Regions from separate parts of the Homo sapiens genome. Here all the other regions are linked to region 2. Evidence: promoter capture Hi-C in 16 types of primary human blood cells and fetal thymus (Javierre and others, 2016). All regions are on one chromosome and are shown on one strand. Each heading gives the region's core, a stretch centred on a gene start or on the middle of the fragment in contact. The rest is flanking DNA. Distances are from core to core; before and after follow the strand shown. Region 1 overlaps IPMK (inositol polyphosphate multikinase). Region 2 holds the start of ZWINT (ZW10 interacting kinetochore protein). Region 3 overlaps IPMK (inositol polyphosphate multikinase).

What was found. The method cuts DNA at HindIII sites, captures the fragments that hold promoters and counts their contacts. A CHiCAGO score of 5 or more calls a contact.
Region 1: a contact is called between a fragment that was not itself captured here and the fragment with the promoter of ZWINT in region 2, in 1 of 17 cell types (fetal thymus). The highest score is 5.9, in fetal thymus.
Region 3: a fragment that was not itself captured here is called in contact with the fragment with the promoter of ZWINT in region 2 in 1 of 17 cell types (non-activated CD4 T cells); the score reaches 7.2 in non-activated CD4 T cells.

Annotation. Positions count from the first base shown.
Region 1 is chr10:58,261,845-58,265,866 of GRCh38, reverse strand. The region is part of intron 1 of IPMK (inositol polyphosphate multikinase); the gene reads left to right. Among named protein-coding and RNA genes, the nearest start is that of IPMK, 4.0 kb to the left of the region's middle. The HindIII fragment of the contact is 3,933 bases long and covers 510-4,022 here.
Region 2 is chr10:56,358,854-56,362,727 of GRCh38, reverse strand. ZWINT (ZW10 interacting kinetochore protein) reads left to right here and starts at 1,469. Exons shown (of 9, transcript NM_007057.4): 1 at 1,469-1,532; 2 at 2,345-2,435; 3 at 2,587-2,710; 4 at 2,875-3,041; 5 at 3,196-3,252; 6 at 3,781-3,874. The coding sequence starts at 1,492. It overlaps LOC124902546 (a long non-coding RNA gene), which reads right to left and starts at 1,269. Exons shown (of 2, transcript XR_007062372.1): 1 at 872-1,269. RefSeq lists a silencer at 1,202-1,411 and enhancers at 1,502-1,671, 1,020-1,759, 2,499-3,239, 2,385-3,584. The HindIII fragment of the contact is 11,189 bases long and covers 92-3,874 here.
Region 3 is chr10:58,243,895-58,247,409 of GRCh38, reverse strand. The region is part of intron 1 of IPMK (inositol polyphosphate multikinase); the gene reads left to right. Among named protein-coding and RNA genes, the nearest start is that of IPMK, 22 kb to the left of the region's middle. The HindIII fragment of the contact is 7,112 bases long and covers 1-3,515 here.

The DNA of each region.
Region 1 (4,022 bases), core at 1,227-3,726, 1.9 Mb before region 2:
CAATCTAAATAATTGTCACTTAAGAGTGTAACCACTGCTTATTACAGTATGTAATAGTGATCCCATTCAGAGTGATTGCAAATAGTGGCTGAAAAGTTAATTTGTCACCCAAATTGCCTAATTAATGGAAAAGTTTAGATTCTAGAGGTAGTAGTCCTTAATTTTATTATGGCATTCAGTGTAAAATAAACTTTTTTTGCAATTTCATAAGGGTCTTTTGAGTAGGGACAGTGTTTGTGTCACCATAGTAGAATGGCTTAAACATACTGTGCTAGCAACCTAATATTTGTTGAATTTAATTCTCAGATAGTTATACAATCCTGACTGTATTGTTAAGTAAAAGGATACTTGACTGATGATATATTCCCTATTTGTAAAATGGATAAGATGGTCACTAATTCAAAGTTCAACAGTTTTATTATGTTTCTCCACTGTCATAAGTCATGTACAGTTTACATCATTTAGATCATGCTTTGGTCTGTCAATTGAAATAATTCTCAGGATAAGCTTTGTTAAGGACGTTATGTTGGTATTTGTTTTGTTTTTAAATTTGTGTTACTATCAGTAAGTAACCAGAAATGTTCCATTTAGAATTATTTTACCTATTTCCAAAAAGGAGTTGTTGGCTTTGTTAGTTTAAAAATTAAACTCATGGAACTTGATAGAACAAAGGTGCTTGAACAGAAAAATAGATCTTGTTATATATGCTAAGTAACAAGCATATATTAGTAGTTCAGACATCCGTTATATTTTGTGTTCTTCACTGAAACCATATTTCATCAAAATACATTTAAATCTTAGTTCTAAGAATACAAAGTATTTTGTTTTTTAAACTGTAAAAATTGTATAGTACACGGATCTTTTAGGAAAAAAATTCAGTTTAAGTAGTGCCCTTCCCCCTACTCATTCTCCCAGGGGCAATCACTGGTAACTACTTCCTGTCTATCCTTTCAGGCCTTTGTTTCTGGGCACATACATAAACACATTAGCGCGGTTCTGTTTTTTTATACAAATAAATCTATCAGCAACTTTTCTCATTCTGTATTATATCATGTATTATACCTATATTTTTGCACTTACGGTATACTTTATTCTTTCTAAAAATTGTGTTCTACAATGTGGATGTATCACAATTTATTTAACTATTTCTGTAATCATAGATTTTTAGACTTTTCACCATTTGTTTGCTGTGATAAGTAATGTACTTATTAAACATTCTTGTATATAATAGCATACCTTGCACGTTGTGTACCTATCTCTGTAGGAAGTTTTCGCAAAAAAAAGATCAATATAAATTCCCAAAACTCACCAAAGTTAGCATAAAATTCTTTTAATATGTATCATTAAGTTCTTTAAAAAGTCCTTAAAGTTTTAAACAAATGATGGAAATCTGATATTTCTTGATCTGATGTAGGATGTAGAAATGGGGTAGTCTATAGGGAAAACAAGGATTTAAACTGATAATTGTTGTGGGGGAGAAAGACCTACAATTATCTTGGCTTAGTAGTCTCTTTTTATTAGATATCCTCTGAAACTAATTAACCTAAAATAATTTCAAGCCTACAGAAAAGTTGCAAGAACAATAGAAAAGTAACATTTTGCAAAATTTGTTTTATTATCTCTCAATGCAAATAATTTTTCTTAACTATTTGCAAGTAGGTTGCATACATTATGCCACTTTACATGTTAATACTAAAGTGTGTCTTCCTTAAGAACAAGGATATTCTCTTCTGTAGCCACAGCACATTGATCAACTATGGGAAATTTAACAGGGATATAATACTTTAATCTATAGTCCATAGTCTCACTTTGTCAACTGTTCCAATACTGTAATGTCTTTTATCACATTTGTTTTTCTCAGTACAGGATCTGGTCCAGAATCATTTATTGCAATTAGTTGTTATGTCTTTTAGTGTCCTTTCATTTGTAACATATCCTCAGCCTTTCCCTGTCCTTTATGACATTGTCATTTTGAAGAGTACAGGCCAGTTATTTTATGAAATGTTCTTTAATTTGGGTTTCTGATAGTTCCTTACGATGGGATTCAGATGATACTTTTCCAGCTGGAACATTGTGTAAGTGGAGGCCAACAATAGCTGCCCTTTGGTAGTGGATTATTTCTGGTTGTCTGATTCAAGTGTAGTCTGGCTTCTTCAGTATATCGTTTTGTTTGTTTGTTTTTTGAGACAGGCTCTTGCTGTGTCACCTAGGCTGGAGTGCAGTGGCGTGATGTAGTTCACTGCAGCCTCAAACTTCAGGGCTCAAGCAATCCTCCTGCCTCAGCCTCCTGAGTAGCCGGGAGTATAGGTGCACACCACTAGGCCAGGCTAATTTTTTTTTTTTTTAACGGAGTCTTGCTCTGTTGCCCAGGCTGGAGAACAGTGGCGCGGTCTTGACTCACTGCAACCTCCGCCTCCCAGGTTCAAGTGATTCTCGTGCCTCAGCCTCTTAAGTAGCTAGGATTACAGGAGTGCACCACCATGCCTGGCTAATTTTTGTATTTTTAGTAGAGACGGGGTTTTGCCATGTTGGCCAGGCTGGTCTTGAGCTCCTGGCCTCAGGTGATCCACCCACCTCTGCCTGCCAAAGTGCTGGGATTACAGGCATGAACCACTGCTGGGCCAGGCTAATTTTAAAATTTTTTGTAGAGATGGGATCTGGCTTTGTTGCCCAGGCTGGTCTTGAACTACTGGCTTCAAGTGATCCTTCTGCTTCAGCCTCCCAAAGTGCTAGGATTACAGGAATGAGTCACCATGCCTGGCTTCAGTATATAGTTAATGTTTTCTGTTCTACATTTAATAAGCTATATGTGAGGAGACACTTTACAGTCATGCAGCTATCTGGATTCTCATCAACTTCATCCCTAGATTTGGCATCTGTTGATTCTTGCCTGAAGCTGTGTTTATTCTGATAGTTACAAAATTGTGATTTTTTCCCCCCATTCTTTCACTCCCTCTGCTTTAACAGCTAGCATTCCAAGAAATAGCTCTTCCTTTACCCTTAAGTATTTATGTCCTTATTTATAATCAGTTTGCATCATGGATTCCTATTTGATAACATGTATCATTACCCATTATGGAACTTATTTATTGGACTTTAATCACATCTCAATGTTTTTAAAAAAGGAACTTATTTATTTTGTTGCTCAAATGGTCCCAAATTTGACCATTGAGAGCACTTCCTTTCTGTCATAACAGATTTTTTAGAATTATCTCATAACTTTCTTCCCCAGCCCTAGAGTCAACCATTTCTTCAAGGAGCCCTGGTTTCTTTTTAGTGGAAAATGGTATTTAGAAACCAAGATCTGTGTTACTAGGTATTGTCATAACTGTTGGAGTATCATTTCTTCCAGGACTTTTCAATGGACATGATTTTTAAAGTATGTATAAATATTTTAGAAATTATAATTTCATATTTCAAATTTCATTTAAACCCGAGTTCTTCCTTTCCCTTGATTCTAAATTTGTATTTCCCTTCTTCTGTAGTAAGAACCCTGGCTCCCAGTGATATTAATATGTTTATTCTTTTGCTTAATCTTACAATTTTCAGAATTTCTACACCCATACTACTTCAGAAAACAAGCCTAGAATAAAGAATTCAGGATGAGATTTTTTTATTTATTTATTATACTTTAAGTTCTGGGGTACATGTGCACAACGTGCAGGTTTGTTACATATGTATACATGTGCAGTGTTGGTTTGCTGCACTCGTTAACTAGTCATTTACATTAGGTATTTCTCCTAATGCTATCCCTCCCCCATCCCCCCAACCCCACGACAGGCCCCGGTGTGTGATGTTCCCTGCCCTGTGTCCAAGTGTTCTCGTTGTTCAGTTCCCACCTATGAGTGAGAACATGCGGTGTTTGGTTTTCTGTCCTTGCGATAGTTTGTTCAGAATGATGGTTTCCAGTTTCATCCATGTCGCTACAAAGGACATCAACTCATGAATTCAGGATGAGATTTTCTTATACTGAGGGTATAAACTGTGTTCAAAAATTACTTGGGGCTGGGCACGGTGGCTCA
Region 2 (3,874 bases), core at 220-2,719:
TCCTTGCCTGTTGATTCTAACATTACTTCAGTTCTGATCAGCAATTGATTTTTCTCCTCATTATGTGTTTTTTTTTTTCTTTTTGCAAGCTTGGTAATTTTTCTTTGTATGACATATGTAAATTGCACCTTTGGTGAACATTTTTCTATTTCTATAAATACTGCTGAAGTTTGGTCTTGTCATCTGTCATGGTTTGTTAAGTTTGATCCATTTGGGTCTTACTTTTAAGAGTTAGATGGCACTACAGCACTGATCAGCTAGGACTAATTACTGCCTACTAAATAATTAGTAAACAACTATCAAATCAAGACTTTTTTGTGTGTACTCTGTCCAGTGTCCTACGGACTATGAAGTTTTCCAGCCTGGTTAGTGGAAATAGAGACTATTTCTGACCCTCTGTAATGTCCATATATATATATTTATATATATATATATATGTATTTTTTTTTTTTTGTGAGACGGAGTCTCGCACTGTCACCAGGGCTGTAGTGCTGTGGCGCAATTTCGGCTAACTGCAACCTCAGCCTCCCTGGTTCAAGCAATTCTCCTGCCTCAGCCTCCCGAATAGCTGGGATTACAAGCGCCCACCACCACGCCCAACTAATTTTTTTTGTACTTTTAGTAGAGACGGGGGTTTCACCATGTTGGCCAGGCTGGTCTCAAACTCCTGACCTCGTAATTCACCTGCCTCAGACTCACAAAGTGCTGGGATTACAGACGTGAGCCACCGCGACCGGCCATGTCCTGGTATCTTTAAAAATCTTTTAGCTAGTTTCTTGAGACACATACTGCTCAGTACTCAGCTGAATGAATACCAAGTTCTCTCTCAGCAGTTATCTTTCTCCTGTACTCTGCAAAGAACATTACCTACCTTGGTCTCCCCAGAATATCTGTTCTATTTTGCCAACGCAGGCAATCGGCTGGGCTCTGCTTGAGTTCACTCTCCTGCATCGCATCTATAAAATACTAATATCTTTGAAAGCAGCTCGCTTTTTGAGCGCAGATCATTTGCTTCCTGTATCTCCCGGATCACTATTCTTTACTGATTCCCAGCGTCTTAGAAACAGCCCCACTGTTTTTCGGGGTTTTGTTTTTTTTTTTCTACAGCAGTAGTGAATATTTTAAATAAAGTGTCAATGCTGTAAGTTTCCCTTAAAACGCAAACTCAAGGAAATGCTTTCCCTTTTTCGAGTAGAGAAAGAACTTCCACAGGCGCGCGGTCGAGCTCAAGCCCACTTATAGTCTCTGGCACCGCGTAAGGACTAGCGCGCAGGCGCAGAGCCCGTGCGCGCCTAGCCATAACCGCGCTTGCGCCAAGCAGCGAGGCCCGCCAACGAGCGAATCCGCGCCTGCCAATTAGAGCGCACAATGGTCCTTGATGCCCGCCCACTAACCTCTGCAGCCAATCGCCTGCCCCGGCGCGAAGTCGACTGTGACTTCAAAGTAATCTTAGGGATTGTGGGAAGGCAGCTGAACTCGGCGCCTGGAAAGATGGAGGCAGCGGAGACAGAGGCGGAAGCTGCAGCCCTAGAGTAAGTGTTTGCGGCTAAGTGGCAGCTGGGGCCGGGCCTGGGAGGACCTTGTGGGCCCCTATGTGTAATGATTGGTGCCCTCGACCCTGTACAGCTGTTGAGGTTCGACCCTGCCGTGAAGTGATCCTCACCGCAGTCCCGTCTTAGGTTCCTGAGGTGTCTGTTGCCTGCTCCAGGAGTACAGCCTTTGGGGGACCGTTCGCCGCTCCCCACATCCACATAATCCACAGGATGTGCTCTAGGAGACGGTTTCACTTCTGTCTTCTTGTCCCAACACGACACATTCCCAGTCACTTCTCATCCCCATCCCTGCCCCTTCGTAGATTGCTCCAGTCCCTAATAATGAAAAACCCTAGAGTAGACCGAGGCATCCAGCCCTCTGCCCTGAGTCCTTTCTCAGCTATTCCAAGACTCTGCCCCAAGGCTGGTGCTCAGCGCCAGGAGGGATCCCAAGGCCCAGCATTCTTCCCCTTCCTTGCATATCTCCCTGGCTTCCTTCACATCTTGACTCAAATGATTTCTCTTCAGTGAGACACTCCCTATTTAAAATTTCAGCTCTTTTCTCAAACTCCTTATCCACTAGCCCTGCTGATTTTCCTTTTGGCACGTATTACCACCGTGTGCCCTCCATGCACGCCATTCCTGGTTGCAGGCTGTGGACCCTTCAGGCCCTTGTGTAAACTCTGGTCAAGGCAAGACTCTCAATACTATATATACTGATATACACATCCACATTTGTTTGTGTACACACACGAACTGTAGAACTAGCACCACAAGAAACTGCAATTTCCTGTGTTTCCTTGCCCCTCCAGGGTCCTGGCTGAGGTGGCAGGCATCTTGGAACCTGTAGGCCTGCAGGAGGAGGCAGAACTGCCAGCCAAGATCCTGGTTGAGTTTGTGGTGGTATGTACAAGATGAGAGCGAGCCTTTCAGAAGCCAGGGTCTGGTCCTGGCTCCTCTTACTGAGATACAGGGCAGCACTGGCAGAGAGCAGACTTAAGGAAACCTGTAAGGAGGTAAGGATGTTCCCTGTCTCTGCCCTCCCTCTGAGCAGGACTCTCAGAAGAAAGACAAGCTGCTCTGCAGCCAGCTTCAGGTAGCGGATTTCCTGCAGAACATCCTGGCTCAGGAGGACACTGCTAAGGGTCTCGACCCCTTGGCTTCTGAAGACACGAGCCGTGAGTAGGCAGGGGATTGTAGTAGCAGCTGACCTGAGTGGGGAAGGAAGGAGGATTTCAGTTAGGTCTCCCATTTGGCTGATGGGAAGGAGGCCCAGTGTTGCAGGGAGGCAGGCTAGCAGGCCACCCTCACTCATGTACTCATTCCTGGTGGCTCATCTCAGGACAGAAGGCAATTGCAGCTAAGGAACAATGGAAAGAGCTGAAGGCCACCTACAGGGAGCACGTAGAGGCCATCAAAATTGGCCTCACCAAGGCCCTGACTCAGATGGAGGAAGCCCAGAGGAAACGGACACAACTCCGGGAAGCCTTTGAGCAGCTCCAGGCCAAGGTACACCCAGGGGTCTTGAGTACAGGGAGGGAAGGGCAGTTAGAAAGGAAGAGGGAAAGAGTGAGCAAGCTGAGTTGTGCCAGCTTGCAATCTCCCAAAATTCTAGCCAGAAAAAATAGACTTCTCTTGGTCTTTCTCCCTTGCTTATCTGTAGAAACAAATGGCCATGGAGAAACGCAGAGCAGTCCAGAACCAGTGGCAGCTACAACAGGTAGGTTCGTCCCCCTAGGAGAATATCCCTTCCCACCACCATGCCATTGTATCGGCTGTGTCCCCTGTCTAGAAAACCGTTTTGCTTCCTCCTTTGAGGCACTATAATATAAATACCAACATGGGCTTGAATCTCAGTGTCACCACTTACCACTGCATGATCTTGGGCAGGTCACCTAACTTTCTGTTTCTTTATTTAAAATGAAGGCAATAATACCACCTACTCTAGAGAGTTATTAAGATGATTAAATGATCATTACAGCAAGGACTTTAAAATAGTACCTGGCACATAGCAAGTTAAATAAGTGTTATCACCTTTGTGCCCCTTCCCCGCAAGAATGCCTCACCCTAGAACAGCTCATTCTGATCTTTCCTTTTCTCTAGGCCCCTACTCCACCCTGAAGTGAATAGAGTCCCTCTTTTCATCATTGAGCCTGAGCCCTGAGCTGGGTGTAGGCTGGAGGGGTTGGAGGGAGTTTCTAAGACTTCAACATCTGATGCATAATGTCTGCATGCTCACTCCTGGCAGGAGAAGCATCTGCAGCATCTGGCGGAGGTTTCTGCAGAGGTGAGGGAGCGTAAGACAGGGACTCAGCAGGAGCTTGACAGGGTGTTTCAGAAAC
Region 3 (3,515 bases), core at 30-2,529, 1.9 Mb before region 2:
ATTTGGGTTGGTTCCAAGTCTTTGCTATTGTGAATAATGCCGCGATAAACATACGTGTGCATGTGTCTTTATAGCAGCATGATTTATAATCCTTTGGGTATATACCCAGTAATGGGATGGCTGGGTCAAATGGTATTTCTAGTTCTAGATCCCTGAGGAATCGCCACACTGACTTCCACAATGGTTGAACTAGTTTACAGTCCCAGCAACAGTGTAAAAGTGTTCCTATTTCTCCACATCCTCTCCAGTACCTGTTGTTTCCTGACTTTTTAATGATTGCCATTCTAACTGGTGTGAAATGGTCTCTCATTGTGGTTTTGATTTGCATTTCTCTGATGGCCAGTGATGGTGAGCATTTTTTCATGTGTCTTTTGGCTGCATAAATGTCTTCTTTTGAGAAGTGTCTGTTCATGTCCTTTGCCTACTTTTTGATGGGGTTGTTTGTTTTTTTCTTGTAAATTTGTTTGAGTTCATTGTGGATTCTGGATATTAGCCCTTTGTCAGATGAGTAGGTTGCGAAAATTTTCTCCCATTTTGTAGGTTGCTTGTTCACTCTGATGGTAGTGTCTTTTGCTGTGCAGAAGCTCTTTATTTTAATTAGATCCCATTTGTCAATTTTGGCTTTTGTTGCCATTGCTTTTAGTGTTTTAGACATGAAGTCCTTGCCCATGCCTGTGTCCTGAATGGTAATGCCTAGGTTTTCTTCTAGGGTTTTTATGGTTTTAGGTCTAGCGTTTAAGTCTTTAATCCATCTTGAATTGATTTTTGTATAAGGTGTAAAGAAGGGATCCAGTTTCAGCTTTCTACATATGGCTAGCCAGTTTTCCCAGCACCATTTATTCAATAGGGAATCCTTTCCCCATTGCTTGTTTTTATCAGGTTTGTCAAAGATCGGATAGTTGTAGATATGCGGCGTTATTTCTGAGGGCTCTTTTCTGTTCCATTGATCTATATCTGTGTTTTGGTACCAGTACCATGCTGTTTTGGTTACTGTAGCCTTGTAGTATAGTTTGAAGTCAGGTAGTGTGATGCCTCTAGCTTTGTTCTTTTGGCTTAGGATTGACTTGGCGATGCGGACTCTTTTTTGGTTCCATATGAACTTTAAAGTAGCTTTTTCCAATTCTGTGAAGAAAGTCATTGGTAGCTTGATGAGGATGGCATTGAATCTGTAAATTACCTTGGGCAGTATGGCCATTTTCACGATATTGATTCTTCCTACCCATGAGCATGCAGTGTTCTTCCATTTGTTTGTATCCTCTTTTATTTCCTTGAGCAGTGGTTTGTAGTTCTCCTTGAAGAGGTCCTTCACATCCCTTGTAAGTTGGATTCCTAGGTATTTTATTCTCTTTGAAGCAATTGTGAATGGGAGTTCACTCATGATTTGGCTCTCTGTTTGTCTGTTGTTGGTGTATAAGAATGCTTGTGATTTTTGTACGTTGATTTTGTATCCTGAGACTTTGCTGAAGTTGCTTATCAGCTTACGGAGATTTGGGCTGAGACAGTGGGGTTTTCTAAATATACAATCATGTCGTCTGCAAACAGGGACAATTTGACTTCCTCTTTTCCTAACTGAATACCCTTTATTTCCTTCTCCTGCCTCATTGCCCTGGCCAGAACTTTCAACACTATGTTGAATAGGAGTGGTGAGAGAGGGCATCCCTGTCTTGTGCCAGTTTTCAAAGGGAATGCTTCCAGTTTTTGCCCATTCAGTATGATATTGGCTGTGGGTTTGTCATAGATAACTCTTATTATTTTGAGATACGTCTCTCTGGGACTTTTTCATCTTTTTTTTTTTTTTGAGACAGAGTCTTCCTCTGTCACCCAGGCTGGAGTGCAGTGGCATGACCTCAGCTCACTGTAGCATCCGCCTCCTGTGTTCAAGCGATTGTCCTACCCCAGCCTCCCGAGTAGTTGGGATTACAGGCATGTGGTACCACCCCTGGCTAATTTTTGTGCTTTCAGTAGAGACGGGGTTCCACTATGATGGCCAGGATGGTTTTGAACTCCTGACCTCGTGATCCGGCTGTCTTGGCCTCCCAGAGTACTGGGATTATAGGCATGAGCCATTATTTTCTAGCCTACTTTTTCATCTTTTAAAACTCATGTCCACTGAACAACTCTTTTCTCCCTTCTCCTGGCCCCTGGCAGCTATCATTCTATTTTCTGTTTTCTAAGAATTTAACTGCTTTAAATATCTCCTATAAGTGTAATCATGTAGTATTTATCTTTTTGTTACACTGGCTTATTTCACTTAGCATAATGTCTTTAAGTTTTATCCATGCTTTAGCATAAGACATAATTTTCCTTTTTGTATTTTTTAATTTTTTTATTTTAATTTGTTTATTTTATTATTTTTTTTTTTTTAGTATTTATTGATCATTCTTGGGTGTTTCTCAGAGAGGGGGATGTGGCAGGGTCATAGGATAATAGTGGAGAGAAGGTCAGCAGATAAACATGAGAACAAAGGTCTCTGGTTTTCCTAGGCAGAGGTCCCTGCGGCCTTTGGCCCTGTTTGTGTCCCTGGGTACTTGAGATTAGGGAGTGGTGATGACTCTTAATGAGCATGCTGTCTTCAAGCATCTGTTTAACCAAGCACATCGTGCACCGCCCTTAATCCATTTAACCCTGAGTTGACACAGCACATGTTTCAGAGAGCAGGGGGTTGGGGGTAAGGTTATAGATTAACAGCATCCCAAGGCAGAAGAATTTTTCTTAGTACAGAACAAAATGGAGTCTCCTATGTCTACTTCTTTCTACACAGACACAGTAACAATCTGATCTCTCTTTCTTTTCCCCACATTTCCCCCTTTTCTTTTTTTTCGACAAAACCACCATCGTCATCATGGCCTGTTCTTGATGGTCGCTGTCTCTTCGGAGCTGTTGGGTACACTTCCCAGACGGGACGGCCTGGCAGAGGCGCTCCTCACTTCCCAGACGGGGCGGCGGCCGGGCAGAGGTGCTCCTCACCTCCCAGACGGGGTGGCTGGGCGGAGGCGCTCCCCACCTCCCAGACGAGGAGCGGCCGGGCAGAGGCACCCCCCACTTCCCAGAGGGGGCGGCCGGGCAGAGGCGCTCCTCACTTCCCAGACGGGGCGGCCTGGGCAGAGGCGCCCACTTCCCCGACGGGGCGGCTGGGCAGACGCGCTCCCCACCTCCCAGACCAAGGGCAGCCGGGCATAGGCGCTCCTCACCTCCCAGGTGGGGCGGCCGGGCAGAGGCGCTCCTCACCTCCCAGACGGGGCGGCCGGGCAGAGACGCCCCTCACCTCCCAGACAGGGTGGCCAGGCAGAGGCGCCCACTTCCCAGACGGGGCGGCCGGGCAGAGACGTTCCCCACCTCCCAGACGAAGAGCGGCCGGGCAGAGGTGCCCCTCACTTCCCAGGCGGGGCAGCCGGGCAGAGACGCCCTTCCCCTCCCAGACGGGGCGGCGCGCCAGGCAGAGGCACTCCTCACATCCCAGACGATGGGCGGTCGGGCAGAGACGCTCCTCACTTCCTAGACGGGGTGGTGGCCGG